Linked DNA regions of Homo sapiens: region 1 is linked to region 2. Evidence: promoter capture Hi-C in 16 types of primary human blood cells and fetal thymus (Javierre and others, 2016). All regions are on one chromosome and are shown on one strand. Each heading gives the region's core, a stretch centred on a gene start or on the middle of the fragment in contact. The rest is flanking DNA. Distances are from core to core; before and after follow the strand shown.

The links. Contacts are between HindIII fragments. The CHiCAGO score rates a contact against its expected background, and 5 or more counts as called.
Region 1: the fragment with the promoter of CCDC136 here is called in contact with the fragment with the promoter of HILPDA in region 2 in 1 of 17 cell types (fetal thymus); the score reaches 5.6 in fetal thymus.

Annotation. Positions count from the first base shown.
Region 1 is chr7:128,787,609-128,794,415 of GRCh38, reverse strand. CCDC136 (coiled-coil domain containing 136) reads right to left here and starts at 2,448. Exons shown (of 18, transcript NM_022742.5): 1 at 1,989-2,448; 2 at 1-68. The coding sequence starts at 2,004. RefSeq lists silencers at 3,065-3,333, 2,872-3,341. The HindIII fragment of the contact is 10,437 bases long and covers 1-5,305 here.
Region 2 is chr7:128,451,613-128,458,163 of GRCh38, reverse strand. It overlaps HILPDA (hypoxia inducible lipid droplet associated), which reads right to left and starts at 2,286. Exons shown (of 2, transcript NM_013332.4): 1 at 2,141-2,286; 2 at 1-963. The coding sequence starts at 895. The coding sequence ends at 704. It also overlaps the pseudogene EFCAB3P1. RefSeq lists a silencer at 2,234-2,373 and enhancers at 2,474-2,643, 3,552-4,258. The HindIII fragment of the contact is 2,271 bases long and covers 2,237-4,507 here.

The DNA of each region.
Region 1 (6,807 bases), core at 1,199-3,698, 340 kb before region 2:
TTCCACCTCTTCTTCCTCCTCTTCCTCTTCCTCTTCCTCCTCATAGAGAGCTGGGAGTAACACCTCCCCTAGGAGACACAGCCATCCCACCAAGGAGTCAGCATCAACTTCCTTTCTGCCGTCCTTCCAGGGCCCTCAAACTCACTATGCCAGGGCAGAGATGACATACTAGTGCCACCTGGTGTCCCCCAAGGAGCCCCGGGGCAAGACCTGTACTCAAGATGAGTCCTCAGGTGTGAGAGTCAAGTTGAGAAGCAGCCCCTCCACCTCCCAGGCCCTTCCTGGACCAATGTTGCACTTGGTAGCCTCCTATCACTGCCTGTGGGCAGGCTGGTGCCCGCTCAGCCATGAGACACTTGCACAGGATTACCTGCTTCTTCTAGGCTGGCCTCTGAGTAGCAGGACAAGTAGTCAAGAAAGGAGACAGTGAGCGGATCTTTCGGTCAAATGGGGTAACAGTTACAGTTTGGAGATTTCTTGAAAGTTAAAAAACAAAACAAAACTGACCAGGCATGCTGGCTCATGCCTGTAATCCTAGCACTTTGGGAGGCTGAGGTGGGTGGATTACTTGAGGCCAGGAGTTCCAAACCAGCCCGGTCAACATGGTGAAACCCCTTCTCTACTAAAAATACAAAAAAATTAGCTGGGCGTGGTAGTACACGCCTGTAATCCCAGCTACTTGGGAGGCTAAGGCAGGAGAATCGCTTGAACCTGGGAACTGGAGGTTGCAGTGAGGCGAGATCGAGCCACTGGCACTCCAGCCTGGGCAACAGAGTGAGTCTCCGTCTCAAACAAACAAACAAACAAAAACAACCAAACAAAAACTATCCAGGTGGCTTGTGAAAAATCAGCCTTTCCATAATAAGAAAACATTGCCCGTCAGCAGGTAGAGAAAGAAAATATCTGATTGTAGAGGTTTCATTGGACAAACTCGGGCGCCCTTTCAAATGTATATTATTAAATACCTGTTTGAAATTTTCTACAAGGTCCACCTTGTTTTTCCCTGCTGCATGTCACAAGGTCTCCTCTCCCCTAGCTGAGCCATATGAGGCCCCTCCTACTCTGCTGACCACAAAGTAGATTTCAGGGGAAGTTTTAGGCTGTACTTGTGTGTAAAAGAAAGCCTACCATTTTAATGCATTAAAAAAACTGGGGTTTGGTGCTGGCCCCCAGCCTCTGGTTGTGAGCACCCGCTCCTTTACTGCAACGCAGTCCCTATAAATAGCAAAATGTTGTCTGGATGGTGATTGTTTGCTTTGTTTTAAAATTCTGAATCTCTGGTCTTACTTTATCTAATATCAGCAGCCTTAGGTTCAACTGGGACCCTTCGTGCCATCTGTCCCCCTTAGGGGGAGCAGGTTTGCCCATACTGAATGTGCAACGTGCAACACTTCACAGGAAGTACTGGCAAATGGACCAGCGTCCTTCCAGGGGCCTGGTGTTGGCAGCAACTGCCAAGTCACATGGGTGTGGTGGGGATACACGTGTGTTGGGAGGATGGCCTCACGCGCCCCCTCCTAGGCTCTCTCTTTCAGGCAATAAGGTATCCTAAAGAACCAAAGCCACAGGCTTCCATTCGAAGTTAATGTTGGTGGCCCCAGAAAGACAATTCACATGCCCAGTTCCTTGCTTTTTAAAATAAGAGACAGCTTGGGATCTGGGTCGGCAGGCAGTGAGGACAAACCCCCTGCTGAAAGGCTGCTTCAAAGCTCTGTCCAACAAGGCCTCTTTCTCTGTCTGGCAGCTCCCTCGGGACACATAACCTGGTTAGCTGGGGGGTGATTGGGGTCCCGAAGGGATGCATCCTGAACTTCTGTCAAAGCCTGAGCCCTGGGAAGGGCTGGAGCTCTGAGCTGCAGGAAGAGGGGCTAAGATGAACTGAGGGAAGGGCTGTGTCCTGGCTCAGAGGCCTGGGGGTCAGAGGGAGGAAAGAAGGGAATTAAGGGAGGAGGGGAGGGGAAAGAAAGAAGCCTTTTGGGAAAACTCACCCTCCATAGCTTGCATCCCCCGTCGTTCCAGGGACCCCCAGCGTTGGCCCTTCTTCCTCTCACAGCCCTCGGAAGCCTCATAGGAGCCTAGAGTGGTCACTGTGGGTCCTGAGAGCAGGGAGAAAGGAGGGGCTGGGGGGTGGGGGGCTGGCTGCGGGCTGGGGTGCAGAGGAAAGAAGGGGACATGTCTTCCAGCTCCTCGAGGCTCTGGGATCTGTAATCCCAGTGGAGGTGCCTGACTCACTCTGGCGGCTCTGCGACTCCTCTCTCTCGGCCACCTCTCAGCCCTGCCTCCCAGCCTCCTCAGAACCCGCTGTTCCAGGACCCTCTTGCTTGCACAGAAAGAAAGAGGGGGTGTGCGTATTTAGTCCGGGGGGACAGGGAGGAGAGGGCCAAGACTGAAAGAGGGCGGGAGCCAGTGAAGAAGAGGCTGAAAGGCTGAGGTGGCCTACAGATGGAGGGAGGGAGGAGTGGGGGGCGTGCGGGAAGGGGTAGGGCTGCGACCGCTCCCCTCCCCTCTCCTCCCATTCTCTCGCTGGACCTTGCCCACCCCACCCTCGCCCCGCGCTCAGGAGTCTCCGGGGCTGCAGGAGGTGTAGGGTCTGCAGTCCCGAAGGCTGGAAGCACCGTCGGACTGAAGTGGAGAGACGCGCTGGGGAGGGACCACCAGGCAGGATGCGGCCGGTGCGCGGAAGCCTCAGTCCCAGGCCGGAAGGATGGAGACCGGGCCCCGGTGGAGGCCAGGATGGAGGGAGGAAGACTTTGGGCGGAGAAAGGGGAGCCGCGGAGGCCGGGAGCACCTGGGGGTCTGGAAGGAGGAGGGATGGAGGAGAGAAAGGAGGGGCGGTAGACAGGTGACGGAGGGGCGGCTCTGACCTGGGCCCGGGCAGCTCCAGCCCGCGGCTCCCGCGCCGGCTCCGGCGCCCGCCTCCATGACCGCTCCCGCCGCCGCCTTCCGCCTCCCTGAGCAGAAGCCGCAGCCGCGAGCCCGGGGACCCGAGCCGGGTGCGCAGGGAGGGAGGGAGGGCGGACGAGGGGGCGGGGCCTGGCCGGGCCTCCTGACACCGCCCCCCGCCGCTCGCCGCCGCCCGGAAGCCCTCCCAGCACTCGGGAGCTCCGAGCCCGTGCAGGGGGCGGCGCGGGAGGGTGAGCGCGACCCCGGATACGCCCCAAGGCTCTCCCCTAGAGAGCGCGGGGAGCCGCGGGGCCCGGACAGCGTCAGGAGCTCCTAGGCTTATGGCTGCCCCAAGAGGGAGGAGCGAGATCCCCTGGTTCTGGCGGCGGGTCCCCCCGGGGTCTGCTGTGCCCAGGGACCCTTCTGCACCAGGTGTCAGGGCCCGGTCATGCTCAGCAATGGGGACGGCAAAGGACGAGGTGGGACTGTTTCCTCCAAAAGCGCAGACACGCGCGCCCCTCCTTCCCTCCCTCCCCCGCCCGGCCGGCGCCCCCACCTAGCAGTCCGCGCTGACTCCGGCCCCAGGCCCTGCCCACCCCTGCCCGGTGGCCCCTCGGCAGCCTGGGGGCCGGAGGAGGGAAGTCGAGGCCCGGATGGGCGAACGGCAGGGCCCTGACCTCTCCGCTTTCCGCGACCCCCCACCGAGCCAGGGCCAAGGACCCTCTTAGGAGGAGCCCTCCGGTGGCCCCATCAAGCCTCAGGGCCGGAAGACCCCCTCTCCTCCGCCCTGTCTTCCCTTCCGGTCCCACACCCGGTGGGCTGCGAGCCACGCCCCCACAGTAGCCCGCTCAGAGTGGGCACGACTGATGTTCACTCTCGTGGAAGGGAGATTTGGAAGCCCAGGGGGCTTATTTCACGTCTTCAACCATTCGTTTATTCAGGCTATGACTACTGGGTGCCGGCTCTTGAAGAGGCAGTTCTCACATCTCGGCAGGTCTCGGCAAGGATAGAAGTGGGCACAGTTGGGAACAGGGGCTCCCCAGCACATCCAGGAAATGGCTGGAAGATTCCTAAGCCAGGGACACACGCGGATCCCCTCTCTGGCACATCCACTCACAGGTCGAGGGCTAGTATTGTCTGCGTTCCCCCCGCTGCAGGAAAGGGATCCGGATCCAGACCGCAACAGAGGGTTCTTGAATCTCACGCAAGAAAGAATTCAGGGAGGTCCATAGGATAAACTAAAAGCAAGTTTATTAGGAAAGTAAAGGAATAAAGAATGGCTACTCCATAGACAGAGCAGCCCCAAGGGCTGCTTTTTTTGGTTATTTCTTGATGATATGCTAAACAAGGGGTGGTTTATTCCTGACACCCCCTTTCAGACAATGTAGGGTAACTTTCTGATGTTGCCATGGCATTTGTAAACTGTCATGGCACTGGTGGGAGTGTAACAGTGTGAGGATTACTAGAGGTCACTCTCACTGCCATCTTGGTTTTAGTGGGTTTTGGCCGGCTTCTTTACTGCAAGGTGTTTTATCAGCAAGGTCTTTATGACCTGTGTCTTGTGCCAACCTCCTATCTCATCCTGTGACTTAGAATTCCTTAAACGTCTGGGAATGCAGCCCAGTAGGTCTCAGCCTCATTTTACCCAGCTTCTATTCAAGATGGAGTTGCTCTGGCTCAAATGTCTCTGACATCCCACAGGCTCCCACGTCCACAAGCCATCCCTGTTCCACGGGAAGGAAGCCCTTCTTTGCCTGGACTTCCCCCTCCTTTTCAGCTGGGGGTCACCTCCAGGTGGCCTTCTCTGACTGGCACCCCATCCCTGCCCCACTAGGCGCTTTTGTGGTGCTCGCCCCTATTTGTCTGTAACAGCACCAGGCCCTCCGGGTTGTCCGGGCTCTGCCCAGTTTCCTGAAGGTTAGGGGGATCTTAGTTATCTTTGTATTTCCAGCATCTGACAGAGTTTCTGACACAGGATAAATGAGTTAAAGGTCAATCTCCCAGCTACCCAGTTAATGCCCTGTCTTATCATTTAACATGATTTCATATTTGTGGTGTTAAATGTTGCCTATTAATGATGATGTTGCCCATAAGTCTCTCTCCCTCCCCCAACTCCTTGCTCCTTTTTTCTTCCTCTGCCTCTCTCATTATCTCAGCAGAGAGATGATGAGCAGAGATCAAGAATGTTTTCTTTGCTCCCAGATGACAAGATTCTACTCCAGATCCTGTGGCCAAGGTGACACAGTTGTGGGGAAAGTTGAACAAGCCCACCCAGACCCCTTCTGCAGAGGGTTTACTGCAGACGCCAAGCCTGTCCAGATTTGGGGAGCAGAGCATTTGTCAGGGGTGGTAGAAAGGGGCTGCACTGGGGGCTTGAGGGATGCAGTGCTCTGGGAACTGGCAAAGACTAGTTCTGGAAGCTTACTGGCTGTTCTTTCTGCCCAGCGCAGCTCCTCCTGGTTCTGCCTCCGCCAGCAGGGCCACGTTAGCGGTTGGCCTTGACTGCTGACCTCTTGGTGAATGTAGGGAGGCACAGCAGGGAAATTGTCGATGGTGACATCCAGGGTTCAAGCTCTCCTCAGGGAGCTCTGATCCTGAGTATTAGGACTAATCTCTCCCTGGCTCCTGGCATGCAGGTCACCTTTCACCCTTGATTTGGGAGAACATTTAAGAGAGACCTGAACCAGTCTATTTTCAGGAGCCAAACTTGGTCAAACCCTGGCCAGACCAGTACTGGGTTGAGGGCGGAGGGAGGCAGTTAAAAGGCGGGAGAAAAGAGCTTAAGAGATATGAGGGAGGTGGGCTGTGGTCCAGAAATGCATCTCTGAGGGGCCAGGAGTGGTGGGCATGTCAGCCAGGTGATCAACCTAGGGGGATGATCTGAATTAATCCCTGTAATCCCTGGACTCAGGGCTCAGCCTCCCTCCTAATCCCATCCCAGGAGATCATCCTCTTTGAGGACTGATGTAGCCATTTATCCCCCTTTACCCTTATTTCTAAATGCCTAGATCCTTTCATTAAAAAGAAAAAAAATATGAGTATTTGAAACATGCAGAAAAGTATGGTACAGAGAATAACGTAACAAATAACCATGCACACAGAACTGAAATCCTACAACCAGTCAGATCTTGCCACATTTGATTCAAGGTAGCCCTCTATTTATGGTTTTCCAGTTTTACCTGTATGTATGTTTTACCTTTTATGAATGTGTCTACCAACAATACATAATTGCGACTTGTGTGTTTTAGAAATTTATGTAAATAGTGTTATATTGTACACATTTTTCTGCAAACTTTTTTTGTTTTTTTTTTTTTTTGCATTTATCCATGTTGTTTCATATAGCTCCAGTTTATGAATTTTAACTACTGAAAACTCTTTCATTGCTTGAATTCACTGCAATTTATCCATTTTTCGGCTGATTGACATTTTGACTGTTTCCAGTTTTCCATATTAAAAACAGTGCTGCACTTGACAATTTCATGCATTCTCCTAGGATGGATACCTAGAAGTGGAATTTCTGGGTCATAGAGTAGGTGCATCTTAAACTTCACTAGCCGTTGCCAAATTGCTCTATTGTGTAGTTAGACCAATTTAAACACCACTGACAGTGGCTTTAATTTATCCTCTGGCCCCCACTGATTTGGAAGTTACACATTCTATTTCTACTCTTTCAGTGATTACCTCTTTATATATTTCTAAACATTCTTACTTAGCTCTACAGTGAATCAATATCACTATACTTTTTCTGAATAATAGATCTTAGAACATGTTAACTCTGTTCTTCTTTCTCCACCATCTCCCATATTTCTATCTAGTATTTTAGTTTCCCCTTCTTTCTAACCCCAGGAAGTGTCATCCTCACCATTATCACCACCACCACCATCTTTATCATCATCATCTGTCTCAAGGCTTGTTTAGATCTAC
Region 2 (6,551 bases), core at 1,037-3,536:
AACACCAAATAATTGAGCATAAGACATTCAAGACTAAAGGAACCCCAGACAGATGTTTAGGAAGTAGGGTTGAAAATATCACCATCTCCCAACAGCTGAAGTTGGGACATCTAAGAGATGTCAGAGCCATACTGCTGAGGAAAGCACAGCATACACCAGACCCCGGGGTAAGGGCGAGATCAACCTATCTCATAGCCATAAGCAATCCACTCACACCTGTGCATTAAACAGGCTTTTTCTTTTCTTTTTTTTTTGAGATGGAGTCTTGCACTGTGGCCCAGGCTGGGTACAGCAGTGCGATCTCGGCTCACTGCAACCTCCGTCCCCGGGTTCAAGCAATTCTCCCGCCTCAGCCTCCCAAGGAGCTGGGATTACAGGCCTCTGCCACCACACCCAGCTAACTTTTGTATTTTTAGTAGAGATGGGGTTTCGCCATGTTGGCGAGGCTGGTCTCGAACTCCTGACCTCAGGTGATCCACCCACCTCAGCCTCCCAAAGTGCTAGGATTACAGGCATGAGCCACCGCAACCGGCCTAAACAGGCCTTGCCCAGGCAATGAGCATCCAGTTAGACAGGTTCTTCAAGGCCTAGTAATAGTTCTCTGGTTACAACGGTGCTCAGCTTGTCTGCTAGGAATGGGACTCCCATCTGGACATGTCTAGGTCAGTGTTCCAAAATATGGCCAGTATGGAAGGAGGTCTTATCACATGCTTCTGGATGGATGGTCTGGAAGGCCCTTGGTGGGCTCTGTGTTGGCTAGTTGGCTTCTGGTGGTCCAGGAGGTCCCAGGCGATGGGCTCTCTAGTAAGCCCTCTAGGGACTCCATCACTCTAACGAAGATGGAGAGTAGGGTCAGTACCACACCTAACAGGTAGAGGTTCAACACATGCTTCATGGCTGAAAGGACCCTACTCCTCTGCAGAGAAACAGAGCTGCCTTCTCCTTCTGAAAGGCCTCTGGACCCTGAGAAAAAAGAGGAAAGGATGAATCTATAGCCTTTTGGGGATATGCATGCATCCAGCCCTGACTCTTCTGTCCTCTCACAGGGCTGAAGGAGAGGCTTAGCCAGTGAGGGACACAGGGACCAGGGAGTTGCACAGCAACTCTCCAAGAATATTTTACATTGCAAACTTCATGGCTGCGGAGCCAGTGTTGCTTCTTGGACTAATTCAAGAACACTTCTTAAAACTTTTACTTTCTTAGGCCAGGCGCGGTGGCTCATACCTGTAATCCCAGCGCTCTGGGAGGCCGAGGCGGGTGGATCACCTGAGGTCAGGAATTCGAGACCAGCCTGACCAACATGGTGAAACCCTGTCTCTACTACAAATACAAAAATTAGCCGGGCATAGTGGCACATGCCTGTAATCCCAGCTACTCGGGAGGCTGAGGCAGAATTGCTTGAACCCGGGAGGCAGAGGTTGCAGTGAGCCAAGATCGCGCCATTGCACTCCAGCCTCGGCAACAAAAGCAAAACTCCGTCTCAAAAACAAACAAACAAACATTTACTTTATTGAAAATTTTGTTCCTGCAAGGCACAATACACAACCCCTGTGCTACAGTGCAGGCATCAGTCACCTTCCTGAAATAGGCCCAGTCCTTTTGCAGGGGGGTGGTGGGTAATGGGAAATATAAGAACATGCCCTGGAGAAAGGAACCTGCCTAGAAGTCTCTCCCACATCACAGATTGGAGTTAACTACAAACTTTTTGCAAGTCCAAATAACTCTATGAGGGTCAAATCTATCAAGTTCATTTATTTAACAAACATACCATGAATATCTGCAATGTGTTAGGTACCCTGGAAGATACTAGGGCCACATTGCAAACCTTATAGACAAAGGGTAGTTAACACGCAACACGCTAAGTGTTGGGACAGCAAGGAGATCGTGAAGGTGCTCTGGGAGGGCATGGCAGGGATGCCTAACTCAGCACCTGTGGGCGTGGGATGGGCCACGTGGATCCTAGTTAGGACCACCTTAGGACAAAACAGGGCTGACGGCTGAATGGGGACCCCAGATGGGGCGTGGGCGATCAGAGAGGATCCCGGCGGCGCACCCCCAGCCCTGGAACGCGAGGCTGCTAGCGCGGCGAGCACTCTAGCGATGGGGGTGGGGAGCCGGGGAAGCCCACAGGGCCGCTCACCTCCGGGGGAACAGCCGGGAGTGGATCGCCGGCTGTAGGAGCAGGTCGTGCAGGAGTCCGGAGGAAAGTCGGTTACTAAGCACCAGCGCAGAAGCTTCCCGCCACAAAACTCACCGGAGACAAAAGCGCCGTCAGCCGCAGAGCGCAGAGCAACGCCGCCCAGCCTCCGCCCCTTATAGCCGCGAGCACGCCCCAGGAGGGTACGCGCACGCGCACTGGAGGCCGCACGCACGCCCGGGACGCACACGACGTGGCGCACGTCCGCGGCCCCACCCCGCGGGCAACGGGGTTTGGGGATTGTCCCGGGTGCTCTCCCGCGGAGCTGTTTCCAAAAGTACACGTCGTGCGGTTTTGAGTCATTGTGTTCTGGAGTGAGACGAGGCGTGTGTATTAATCTCGACTGCCATCTCTGCTGTAGAAAACATTTGAAGGAGTCAGAGAGCACATATCCCTTCTCCCCAGTAGGTGAAAAACACCGATGGCCTTCGTGTCCGTGAAGCCCCGCCGTGAAGGGTGGGTTCTTCCCCAGAGATTTCGGGTGCACTAAATTGTCAGAGGGCACCAGACCCCTACCCCACTCGTTATTTTCTTCATTTCAAGGACTGAAGAGCTGGTTTTGTTTCACTTCATAGCTGTACCAAGATTCCAAATCCCGAGTTTCAGTTGCCATCGGTATCTCTGGAATGGTGAGGCCCTTGTGCAACATATTAAGCTCTGCAAGCTCTGCTTTCTATGAGAGTTTGTCGTGTCGCTTCAGAAAACGTGAAATACTCCTGGCCCTGGTGTGGGATCCTAACTGCATATGGGCAAGTCACTTGGTATTTAAATGGGCCTCGGTTTTCTCATCTGTAATGAAGACATTGGCCACTAGATGATTTTTCTTCTTCTTCTTCTTTTTTTTTTTTAAATAGAGACAGTCTCGCTATGTTGCCCAGGCTGGTCTCGAACTCCTGATCTCAAGCCATCCTCCCACCTCTGCCTCCCAAAGTGCTGGGGCTACAGGCGTGAGCCACCGCGCCCGGCCGCTAGATGATTTTTAAGGGTGCTTTCGGCTTGAACTAAAGAGCCAGGAGGTCACAGACCAGCCTTATGTCCAGATTTGGGGGGCTAGGCTGCCTTACTAATCACCCCCGAACCCACCCAGCCAAGACTGTGCGGTCTGTCTTGAGAGCACGCAACGGGGGATCTCAGAAAGTAGAGTCCCGGAGAGACACTGGGAATGGGGAGGACCCCCGGGAAGGGGTGTACACGCCGTGGAAGGGAAGGCCGCTGGTGGCTTTAGAACTGGCGGTTCCGTGTACCCGGGTCAAGTGCCCGTGCCGGATGGGAAAGAACCCTGTGACTTTCCACATCTCAGCGAGCTCGGCGGGCTCTGCTTAAGAAGGGCTCTAAGACGGGAAGGGAGGAGCCATCCCCACTGCGACCTTTCCCCTCCTTTCCTGGCTGGCTGGCTGTGGTCTGTCGGGAATGAGGGGGTGGGGAAGCCGGGAAAGCAGAAGGTTGGGGCTGGAGGTCTGCTGGCAGGCAGGCAGACATTTGGAGCCAACTTTCCTGCTCAGCCCGCAGAACTTTTGGTCCTTCGCTATACCAGAGTTTCGTCTGTTTTTTTGCTTGACTGTGTGACCCTTCTCTCACACTGTTATTAAATAGGTCTCAAGCTGCGAAATCACTGCCAGATCCAAACGCCACTACTTTGCCAGGTGAAGGCCTTGGGCGAACCCTTTAACCTTCTTGTAGTTCTGTTTCCTCAGCTGTTCTGTGAGATCATAACAGTCTTAACCTGATATTAAATGAATTAATCCATATAAAGCGCTTAGAACAATGCCTGGCACATAAAAAACATTCTATGAATCTTAACATTATCTGTATCATCAACTACAAAACTCCCAGTGAGGGGTTTTGCTCATTAGCAGCCTAGGCTTGCTGAATGAATGCAGGAATTCTACAATGACCATTTGAGTTCTACTTAGTTTGAGTTCTAAATTTATACTTCACACAGCTGGAAGAAGGGATGGGCACCTCTCCAACAATTCTTTCTCCCCATATTCCCTGCCATTGTCTAAAGGTCATGCCAGTTGGAAATAAGAAGGGTTTGGGTGAGGGCAGCTCTATGCTTTACCATTCTGTCAGCTACAAATGTAGCTACCTGCATCAGGATTTAGTCCTGCCTTCAACACCTTGGCCAGGCTAACTGACCCCTTTGAACTTTAGTTTCCTTATCTGTAAAATGAGGAAAATAATCTGTAAAACAGGGTTGTTGTGAGGGTTGGAAATAATGCCCATAAAGAGTATGTCATATATGCTCAACAAATAGTAGCTATTATTTTGCTAAAAAGTATAAAGCCAGATTCTTGTTCTAAATAAGCTTGTCACCTGGTTGAGTAAACAAGACCTGAATAAGATAAGATAACTAACAACCCAAGGCAGTGTGGGGTAGAGTTTAGAAGTAAGTACATAAGTAGGGTGGTAATGTTTTGCTTGGGGAACTGGGATTTTAACATTCACTATGGTTATTTAAAAAAAAAAAAAAAAAAGAGCTGGGCATGGTGGCTCACACCTGTAATCCCAGCACTTTGAGAGGCTGAGGCGGGCAGATCACCTGAGGTCAGGAGTTCGAGACCAGCCTGACCAACATGGACCAACATTCTCTACTAAAAATACAAAATTAGCCAGGCATGGTGGCGCATGCCTTTAATCCCAACTACTTGGGAGGCCGAGGCAGGAGAATCACCTGAACCTGGCAGGCAGAGGTTGCACTGAGCTGCGATCAGACCATTGCACTCCAGCCTGGGCAACAAGAGGGAAACTCCATCTCAAAAAAAAAAAAAAGAAGAAAGAAAGAGTGGAAACAAAATAAGCATTCTTCAAGTAACTGATACGTGCTGAACATTTTGCTAAATGCATTACATGTATTATTTAATTTTTCTAACGATGCTATGAGGTAGGTATTATTGCCTCTCTTCTTTATTTGTTGTTGTTGTTGAGAAAGGGTCTCACTTTGTTTTCCAGGCTGGAGTACAGTGGCACGATCACTGCTCACTGCAGCCTTGACTTTCTGGGCTCAAGCTATCCTACCACCTCAGCCTCCTAAGTAGCTGGGACTACAGTTACACACCACCACACCCAGCTAATTCTTTCTTTTTTCTTTCTTTGCCACCACCACACCAGCTAATTCTTTTCTTTTCTTTTCCTTTTCTTTCCTTTCTTTCTTTCTTTCTTTTTCTTTCTTTCTTTCTCTTTCTTTCTTTCTTTCTTTTTCTTTCTTTCTCCCTTTCTTCCCTTTCTTTCCTTTCTTTTCTTGCTTTTCTTTCTTTTTTTTTTGTAGAGATGGGGTCTCTCTATGCTGCCCTGACTGGTCTCAAACTCCTGACCTCAAGTGATCCACGTGCCTCAGCCTCACAAAGTGCTGGGATTACAGGTGTGAGCCACCATACCCAGCCTTCTTTATTTGTTAACTATGCTTTTTCTTCCAGAGGAAGAAGAGACTTTCTTCACCTAGTCTTTTACTCATCTTTCATATCTCAATTCAAACATATTTCCTCTGGTCACCCTTGCTGACCCTCGGACCCTGTTCCGGGCTCCAGTGGCATGATAGGCATTTCTTTCCCAGTGTGTTACTTTACCCTTAGTTGTATTAATGTCTGTGTCCTTTCAAAAGCCTGAAAATGTCAGTGAAAGGAGTGTTTGGTCTGATTTTGTTTCCATTCCATCTCCAGCAGCTAGCACCAAATAGTAGGCTTTTGATAAATATTTGTTGACTGAAGGAATAAATGAATGAATATTTTACCCAGCATCTTCAGTGAGTACCCATTGTTTCATCAAGGAAATGTAGATAAGGGCGCCAAGAGAAGCCGTTTTCAGGTGCTACCTCCTCCTTGGAGCTGCAACCAAGGAAAGCTTTTTATAAGCTGCCCTTCCCCCAAAGCCCCTAAAAAGAAGTGATTCTGAAGTCAACCCACACAAGAGTACCATACTAAGAACACAAGTATTTTCACAAATTTGATCTTATCATCAAGTGTTCATTTAAATAACATGTACTTACATTTCTGGTAAGTATAAACTGGTACATTCAGTATGGAAATCAATTTGTCAGTAATTGTTACCCTGACCCCCACTTGTTTTTTAAACACCTCAAGACCATTGAGGTGTTAAAAAAGACCACTGACTACCATTTGGCAATGTCTATAAAAATAAAAGCATACACATGCCCTTTAGCCCAGAATTCCACTTTTAGGATTTATCCTTCCACATGTAGAGAATGGAGTGTTTAAAGGTAGCACTGTTGCAGCACTGTTTGTGATAATGAAAGACTGGAAAAAACAGCCCATCAGTAGAGAACTGGTTAAATAAAAGATGGTGCATTCAGACAGTGAATTACCATAAAGCCAGAAAAAAGAGAGTAAGTTCTGTA